Linked DNA regions of Homo sapiens: all the other regions are linked to region 3. The links are contacts of gene promoters, found by promoter capture Hi-C in blood cells and fetal thymus (Javierre and others, 2016). All regions are on one chromosome and are shown on one strand. The core of a region is centred on a gene start or on the middle of the fragment in contact, and the rest is flanking DNA. Distances in the headings are between cores, read along the strand shown.

Region 1 (2,700 bases), core at 9-2,508, 270 kb after region 3:
ACAGGAACATAAGTCATTAGGAATGTCTGGGACAGGGCTGGAGCAGGTCCCAGAAACACGACACAGGCTAAGGAGAAGGAAGACCCAGAGACTGTGTTGTCAGACCGTGGCTCATGGGCATTTGGTGCAGTGAAACTCGATATTCAATTTGAAATTTTCACTTTTCTGCTTTGAAATTCCCCTGGGATAGTTTAAACCTTTGTAAGTTAGGACACTTTTAGCTGTTAGAAAACCCTAACTCAACTAACTTGAGCAAAAAGAAATTAATTAACTCACAAAACAGAAAATCTAGAGGAGGGCAGATCCCAGGTTGCTTCATTCTGTTCAGCAAATTCAAGGGCATCATCCAGGACCCAGGTTCACTTCTCCTTTCCGTGTGTTGGCCTCACTCGCCAGCTACCTCTCCTCATGGTTACAAGGCAGCAGCAGAGACCCAGCTATCACATCCTATGGCAGCTTCCAAAGGTAGGAAAGAGGCTATCTTGGCTGGGTGCGGTGGCTCACACCTGTAATCCCAGCACTTTGGGAGGCCAAGGCGAGCAGATTACCTGAGGTCAGGAGTTCGAGACCAGCCTGACCAACATAGTGAAGTCCCATCTCTTCTAAAAATACAAAAATTAGCCCGGCATGGTGGCAGGTGCCTGTAATCCCAGCTACTTGGGAGGCTGAGGCAGGAGAATCACTTGAACCCAGGAGGCGGAGGTTGTGGTGAGCCGAGATCATGCCATTGCCCTCCACCCTGGGCAACAAGAGCGAAACTCTGTCTCAAAAAGGAAAGAAAGAAAGAAAGAAAGAAAGAAAGAAAGAAAGAAAGAAAGAAAGAAAGAAAGAAAGAAAGAAAGAGGCTATCTTATCCCTATGTCTGTTTTTAAGACAAACAGACCTTTACTAGAAGCCCACAAAGCCCTTCTCTTCACATCTCATTGGTTACACTTGCATCCCATTCCCCAGTCTAAACTTATCGGCTACATGGTGCATGTTGATGTTAGTTCTAGACCGCTTTGGGTAACAAAGACAGGAAACAGGCCCATGATCTGGGGCAAGGTGAACCAGAAGGCTCTGGAACATGGAGAAACAAGGACAAAATGGCTAGTGGGGATGGGGAGAAAATAAAGACAGTCATTTGGAGGTAGAGATGACAAATGGCATGGATACTCTTTCCAGAATTCTCTGACAGACTGGGGAAGGGATTAGGGATCTTGCAGCCACACAAGAGGGAGGGGCTGCTCAGTCACAAAGGCATGTGTACCCCAGGGGGCTAGAAAACGGGGGGAGGCTTGGCTTTCTCAGGGGATTAGAAGAAAGATGCCAGAAGAGCTGGAATAAAAACTTACTCAAAGACCTAACAGAAGAAAGGTCTTTTGTGTCAAAGAACAGAGTTTGCAAAGTGAACAAGCCGAACACATTGCAGGTACTATCAATGAAAGGAAAATGACAACACTGGAAAAGAATTCCCACCGGCTTCAAAGTAGAAAAAAAGAAAAAAATGGGTCGCCTCTATAGGAACCAGCACAAGTTTGGCCTTGGATTTTGTACTCGGAACTATTCATAACGCTACATTCTTTTTTTTTTTTTTCTTTGAGACAGTCTTGCTCTGTCACCCAGCTGGAGTGCAGTGGTGAGACCTCAGCTCGCTGCAGCCTCTGCCTCTCAGGTTCAAGCGATCCTCCCACCTCAGCCTCCGGAGTAGCTGTGACTACGGGCATGCACCACCACACCCGACTAAGTTTTGCATTTTTAGTAGAGACGGGGTTTCACCATGTTGCCCAGGCTAGTCCCAAACTCCTGACCTCAGGTGATCCACCTGCCTCAGCCTCCCAAAGTGCTGGGATTACAGGAGTGAGCCACTGCACCCAGCCTGTAACACTACATTCTTGAAGGTAGTGCTGTACCTTTTACAGGATTTTGAGCGAACAGTTGGTTCCAAGAATTTTATATCTATCAAATTACTCTTGAATGTGTAGACAACTAAAGATGTTTTGAGATATTCAGAGGCTTGGAAAATAGATCTGTCCATATTCTGCAGTAGACAGAAAAACCAATTCAAAATGCAGGCTTCTAGAAGGTGAGTGTCAGAGCATAAAGGAACCCCTCCACCAGCACGGACCCCCTTGGGGCCCATTGTCCTTGGCATGGCTGTGGAGCCCACACAGGGCAGCCCTGGCCGTGCTAGGCTTCTATGCCCTGAACCTTTTCTGTGCCCCTTGTTGTGCAACTTCAGGAAGTGTGTTAGAGCCACATCCTTTGCCCGGCGGCTCAGACGGAATCTTTACTTCACTCAGTGACCACTCAGAACAATAACAGCTGCCACTCGCTTCCTGAGCTTAATAACAATGGCTCAACCGTTCACCTCCCGGATGCTTGTGACGGAACAGCTTTTAGAAAGTTGTTTTGTTTTCCCTCTCCAAAAGCCATGTCGCCCGGAGATACGTGACAGCCACCGTCAGGGACCAGGGACTTGAGTCACAAGTGTCTCTTCTTTAGAACTCACCGGAATGGCTCAGACCACTGGATTTTTTCTTCCAAATCGGGAAAGAATAATGAAAGGGTCTATGAGATAGATATTTTCTAACTCTTCATCTAAACTTGCATGAAAACCTGGGAGTGTGGCTGGGCATGGTGGCTCACGCCTGTAATCCCAACACTTTGGGAGGCTGAGGCGGGTGGATCACTTGAGCCCAGGCGTTTGAGACCAGCCTG
Region 2 (2,700 bases), core at 176-2,675, 500 kb after region 3:
ATAGAAGATGAGATCCAAGGGAATATTTAAGTCCAAACGGTCTGACCTCATTTTCAGAGCAACCTTTTCCCTAACAGCCTATCCTCAAGTCCCAAAGCTTCTTAGCTAGAACCCACAGTTAGAATTTAAGGAATGTTTTAAAATCTATTCACCAATTTCATCCAAATTGGAAAAAATTTCAGGCTGCTCCATCCATCCTTATCAACTTTTGAGACAAGCAGAGGAAAACAGAATTGCACCAGATCTACAAGTTCCCAAACCCAGCTTTCAGGCACCAATTCTTTGTTATTATTATTTTTAAATAATATTTTAAACATTATTATTTTAAATTATTATTTTTTTGAGACGGAGTCTCACTCTGTCGCACAGGCTGGAGTGCAGTGGCGTGATCTCAGCTCACTGCAACCTCCGCCTCCTAGGCTGCTCAAGTGATTCTCCTGCCTCAGCTTCCCGAGTAGCTGGGATTATAGGCACCCACCACCACGCCCAGCTAATTTTGTATTTTTACTAGAGACGAGGTTTCACCATGTTGGCCAGGCTGGTCTCCAACTCCTGACCTCAAGCGATCCACCCGCCTCAGCCTCCCAAAGATCTGGGATTACAGGCGTGAGTCACCGCGTCTGGCTTCAGGCACCAATTCTAAAGGACAGTCCTAAAAGTTAGGTTTTACTGTCATGTTGTTTTCACCAGGGCTGGAAGGCTCTGAGGGAAAGAGAGAATCCTACCAAGGGTACAGTAAGGTTACCACCTGCCTCTCACTGTGCGGGGTCTCACGCTCTTCATGATGTCCCACAGACATTTCAAACTCAACCCAGTCAACACTCAATTCCCCTCAGCCTGTGCCATGTTCCACTGCTTATCATTTCACAGCAAATGGCAACACCATCCATCCATCCTGGTCCCCAAGCCTGAGACCTTTCCACTCTTCTTGTCCAGTTAATTCTATCCCCTACATTTCTGAAATCCATCTAACTCCTTTTCATCCCCACTACCAAAACCCTATTCCAAGTCACTGGTATCTTTTACCTAGTCTATACTGCAGCCTCCTCACTGTTCTGCCCTCCTGACAGGACAACAACCGGAACTTCCATCCTTGCGAATGTATTCTATTGCAGACAACATGGTTTTATAGCCACTAATTTTACATTCACAAATAGAAAATAATTTTAGGGCCGGGCGTGGCGGTTCACACCTGTAATCCCAGCACTTTGGGAGGCCAAGGCAAGAAGATCACCTGAAGTCAGGAGTTCAAGACCAGCCTGGCCAACATGGCAAAAACCCCTCTCTACTAAAAATACAAAAATTAGCCAGGTGTGGCGGCATGTGCCTGTAGTCTCAGCTACTCAGGAGGCTGAGGCAAGAGAATCGCTTGAACCCGGGAGGCAGAGGTTGCAGTGAGCTGAGATCACGCCACTGCACTCCAGCCTGAGCAAGAGTGAGACTCCATCTCAAAGAAAAAGAAAAAGAAAAAAAAAATGTTAGTTTCATCACTGTTGCAAAAAACATGGGCAGCCTATACTGTTTGTTATTCCTGAAACAATATTCCCCATCCTTTCTGCCATTCTTTCAAAGCCCAAATTCAGATGTCACCTTTTCAGAGAAGCTAGAGTGCAGTGGCATGATCACAGCTCACTGCAGCCTTCAACTCCTGGTCAAGGAATCCCCCTGCCTCATTCTCCCAAGTAGCTGGGACTATAGGTGGGCACCACCATGCCTGTTTTTAAAATTTTTTTTAGAGATATGGTCTCGCTACGTTACCCCAGCTGGTCTCAAACTCCTGGCCTCAAGTGACCCACCTACCTCAGCTTCCCAAAGTGAGCCACCGTGCCCAGCCTGCCTTGCATGGTCCATAATGCTAGATAAAAATAGCCGTGGGTAACACAGAAGGGTGGAAAGAAAACAGGCCTGCCTTGAAATCCCAGCATCCCATAGCAGAAAGCTATGTAACACTGGGAAATGTTCTCAATCTCTGTGCCTTGGTCTACTCATTATTGGTGAAACTGGTATGTCACCTCATAATGCAAAGTAATTCTGAGAATTATATGATACATAGAGTGATTATGAACATATACTGGTTCTCTTCTTGGAACACCTGATCGGATTAATGGTCTGCTTTCAATACAAATAAGCATTTAAGTTTTTAACATACTTTTAGTATCGTTCATTATTAGCATCATTTTCCAACTAAATTACTCAGGATCCTCCAGGGAAATTCATATTAAATATCAAACAATACTTTAAAGCACCAAACAATACTTTAAAGCACCATACAATATAAGTTGTTATTACATGAGGCACAGGTCCTGCACTGAGACGCCCAGTAAATACTGGCTACTTATTTTGAACCAGTTAAAACATTAGTTATTGATAAAAAGAAATATTTCCCTTCTTGAAAAACAATGCTCAATGGAAACTCACACAGGATAACTGGTATCACCTGCACTCCTCCAACACTCAGCTGAGACTAGGACCGTGCTCACCTAATAAACTGGGATCTGCTCGGACCATCTTCTGCTTTTTCTTCTTCTTGCCACTCTGCACAGCCTCAAAATTGGATTGTTGGTTGTTGCTTTGATTGGTCTGAAATACTGAATGGAGTGTACTGTGGTTCATCCCCCACACAGAGTCCTGTGAAATAAGCAGCATGACTGAGATTACACAGCAGATTCAGACTTGGCTCACCCTAGGAAAATGTTTGGT
Region 3 (2,700 bases), core at 4-2,503:
TATCATCACTACTGCTACTGTTATACCCGGAACAAAGCAGGTGTTCGGTACCTATTTGCTGAATAACTGGAGCACTTCACAACAAACCTGTTTGTAACATGTTAGGACCTCAGGTTCCCCCATCGCAGGTATCAAAGGCTGACAGAAGAGAAGGCTCCCACGGTGAAGGGAACGGCTGAACCTAATCCGCCCCGGAGGAAAAGCGCACTGCAGCAGGAGGAGAAAGTCCGTGCCAACCGGATCTGCCAGAGCTGCCCCAGGGACCCAGCCTGCTCGCAGCCACCTGTCCAGCCACCTGCCTGAGGAAGCAGTGTTCTAACCGGGCGGGCTCACCTGGAGCAAAAACCGTAAGCTGTTTTCAATAGGAAGCACAATGGGAAAACAAACGGTGCAACTTTCCTCCTGCAAAAAGGACGTGCGTCTTTATCTAACATTTAGCGTCAGGAGTTCTCCGTGGAGAGTTGGGTGCCAAGCGGGTGCGCGGTCCCGGCTTTGCTGAGAGAGACGGTCACTGAACGCGCATCCCTTCCTTCCCTTTTGGGATGAAGGGGTGAAGGGGTGATCCCTCGCACCCGGGTCCGAGCGGACTTCTGAGGGCACCACAGGGAAGTCTGCAGGGCACTCGCGGGACACCACCCGACCGCTCCTGAGAAACGTGCAGAACCGGGGTTTGGGGACCGCGGACGCCCGCGGGGCGCAGCCGGGAGCCCCCGCGTGGGACCCGCTCGGTGGCACGAGCGCAGTCCCCTGCATCTAGGCCTCAGTTTCCTCCGGGTCCTCGCGGCCCAACTCGGCGCGCGCCCCCCGCCCAGCGCGCGGCGCCCGGGGCGCCCACCTGCGCGCCCCCCGCCCGGCCCCACAGCCGCCCGCCGTCCGTCGGGGGCCGCGCGCTCCGCCCGGGGCGCCGGCCCGTTACAGCGGCGGGGCACGCTCGACAGGGGCGGTGACGCCCGCGGGACCCCGGGCCGGGCCGAGCCGGGCCTGGGCGGCCGCTCGGGCAGGGCCACGGGCCTCGGCCGGGGCTGCCGCGGCGTGAGGGGCGCGCGCCCGGGCCGCCGCGCCGCGGGCTCACCTTCTGTCGGATCTGACCCGACGTGGACACCTTGCGGATGAGCTTCTGTGGGGAGCCGGGCTCCGCCTCGGGCTCGCTGTCGGACGACTCCTCGGGCGGCGGCGGCGGAGGCGGTTGCGGGGGACCCGGCGGAGGGGCGCCCGCCGCCGCCGCCATGCTGCCGGGCCAGCGCGCGCACCGCGGGCGGGGGCGGGGCGGGGCCGGCGGGAGGGGCGGGGCCGAGGGCGGGCCGGGCCGGGGGCGGTGGGGGCGGCCTCCCGCCTCTCCCCGCCGCGCCCCCTGCCGGCCATGCGCGCAGCTGCAGACGGCGCCGCGCGGCCCCTCCCCGCCCCCACCTGAAGCGTCCCGGGCCCCCCGCCCACCTCTCCGGGCCGTGGCTTCTGTGTGTTATTTCTGGAACGCCGTTTGTGTTCTTGTTTCTATATTCACTTCTTAAAACATCTCTACTCTTCCGCATCAGAATGTAGGTAACCTCAGGCAGGCTGGGGCTGTGTCTGTCCTGCCCAGCCTTGTGTGGCCGAGTTTGGGGCGAGCTCGAATGCGCGCGCGCGTGCTGGAAAGAGACCCCGGTACTGGGACGGGCCTCGGGACGCCAGAGCTGGGATGCACCGCTCCATCTGGGAAGGCTTCCTGGAGAAAACGGTTCTTAAGGAGAGATGGAAAATGTGAGCAGGAGTTGTGACTAGAGAGGGAACCATGTTCTAGGCAGAGACCAGATTTGTGCAAAGGCCTGGAGGCAAGAAAGAACGAGTGTTGGGCGAAGACGGGGGAAGAAAGGGAAGCTGGTGCTTAGAGCAAGGAAAATGGCATTAAGATATGAGCCTCGGGGCGGGCAGGTCGAAGCGGGCTTTGGAAACCAGATAAGGGGATGGAAGGCAGCAGGAAGCCCTTGAGGGATTTAACCCTGGGCGGGGCTGGGTCACCACGCTGGGGCCTGTGATCCGGGCTTTGAAGTTATCAGGGCAGGTGGACGCCCTGGATTACCGAGGGGCTGAGAGATAGAGACGTGGACTGAGATCCAGGTGGGGAGTGACCAGCGACTGGAGGGAGACAGAGGTGACCAGAACGAGTCCCATGTTTCCCAGGGGGGCTGCTGGATGGTGGGCGGGTGGGGTCCAGCGCTGCTCTGGGCAGAAGAGGAGGAAGCGAAGCTGGAGATGAGATCAGCTAAGTTTTTGGTGCCATCCAGGTGGAGCAGGGCTTGGTGCCACCCAGAGGAAATGCTGTCCATCTGTCTGCCCTGCTCTGAGGGGCAAATCAGTAAGGGACTGCCCAGGTGTGCCCTCTCCCTGTCAAAGGGCTGCCGCTAGAGACCTCGCCTGCCAATAGGCATTCGCTGGCCGCGCCGCCCTGGGCAGTGACCTGGGGCTGCAGAGTGGCATCTGGCATGGGGACACGGCCAGGGGCATGGGCTCACGGCCAGGACAGAGGAGGACAAGGCCTAAGGCAGGAACAGTCCGGGACAGGCCGAAGGCCCCATGGTGCCCCAGGGTACTATAGCCACTAGCCACATGTGGCTACTTAAATTTCAATTAGTTAGAATTCAGCATTCCGTTCCTCAGCCACAGGAGCCACATTTCAGGGACTCAGTAGCCGCATGTGGCTTAGCAGCTGCCACGCTGGATAGC

Evidence for each region. The method cuts DNA at HindIII sites, captures the fragments that hold promoters and counts their contacts. A CHiCAGO score of 5 or more calls a contact.
Region 1: a contact is called between a fragment that was not itself captured here and the fragment with the promoter of DGKD in region 3, in 1 of 17 cell types (neutrophils). The highest score is 5.4, in neutrophils.
Region 2: a contact is called between a fragment that was not itself captured here and the fragment with the promoter of DGKD in region 3, in 1 of 17 cell types (monocytes). The highest score is 5.0, in monocytes.

Annotation. Positions count from the first base shown.
Region 1 is chr2:233,084,263-233,086,962 of GRCh38, reverse strand. The region is part of intron 2 of INPP5D (inositol polyphosphate-5-phosphatase D); the gene reads right to left. Among named protein-coding and RNA genes, the nearest start is that of INPP5D, 25 kb to the right of the region's middle. RefSeq lists an enhancer at 2,090-2,139 and a silencer at 2,130-2,424. The HindIII fragment of the contact is 5,674 bases long and covers 1-2,700 here.
Region 2 is chr2:232,850,190-232,852,889 of GRCh38, reverse strand. It overlaps GIGYF2 (GRB10 interacting GYF protein 2), which reads right to left. Exons shown (of 29, transcript NM_001103146.3): 28 at 2,481-2,628. Among named protein-coding and RNA genes, the nearest start is that of SNORC, 19 kb to the left of the region's middle. The HindIII fragment of the contact is 2,651 bases long and covers 100-2,700 here.
Region 3 is chr2:233,353,047-233,355,746 of GRCh38, reverse strand. DGKD (diacylglycerol kinase delta) reads right to left here and starts at 1,253. Exons shown (of 30, transcript NM_152879.3): 1 at 1,073-1,253. The coding sequence starts at 1,228. RefSeq lists a silencer at 1,064-1,303 and enhancers at 1,554-1,603, 1,744-1,803. The HindIII fragment of the contact is 8,442 bases long and covers 1-2,700 here.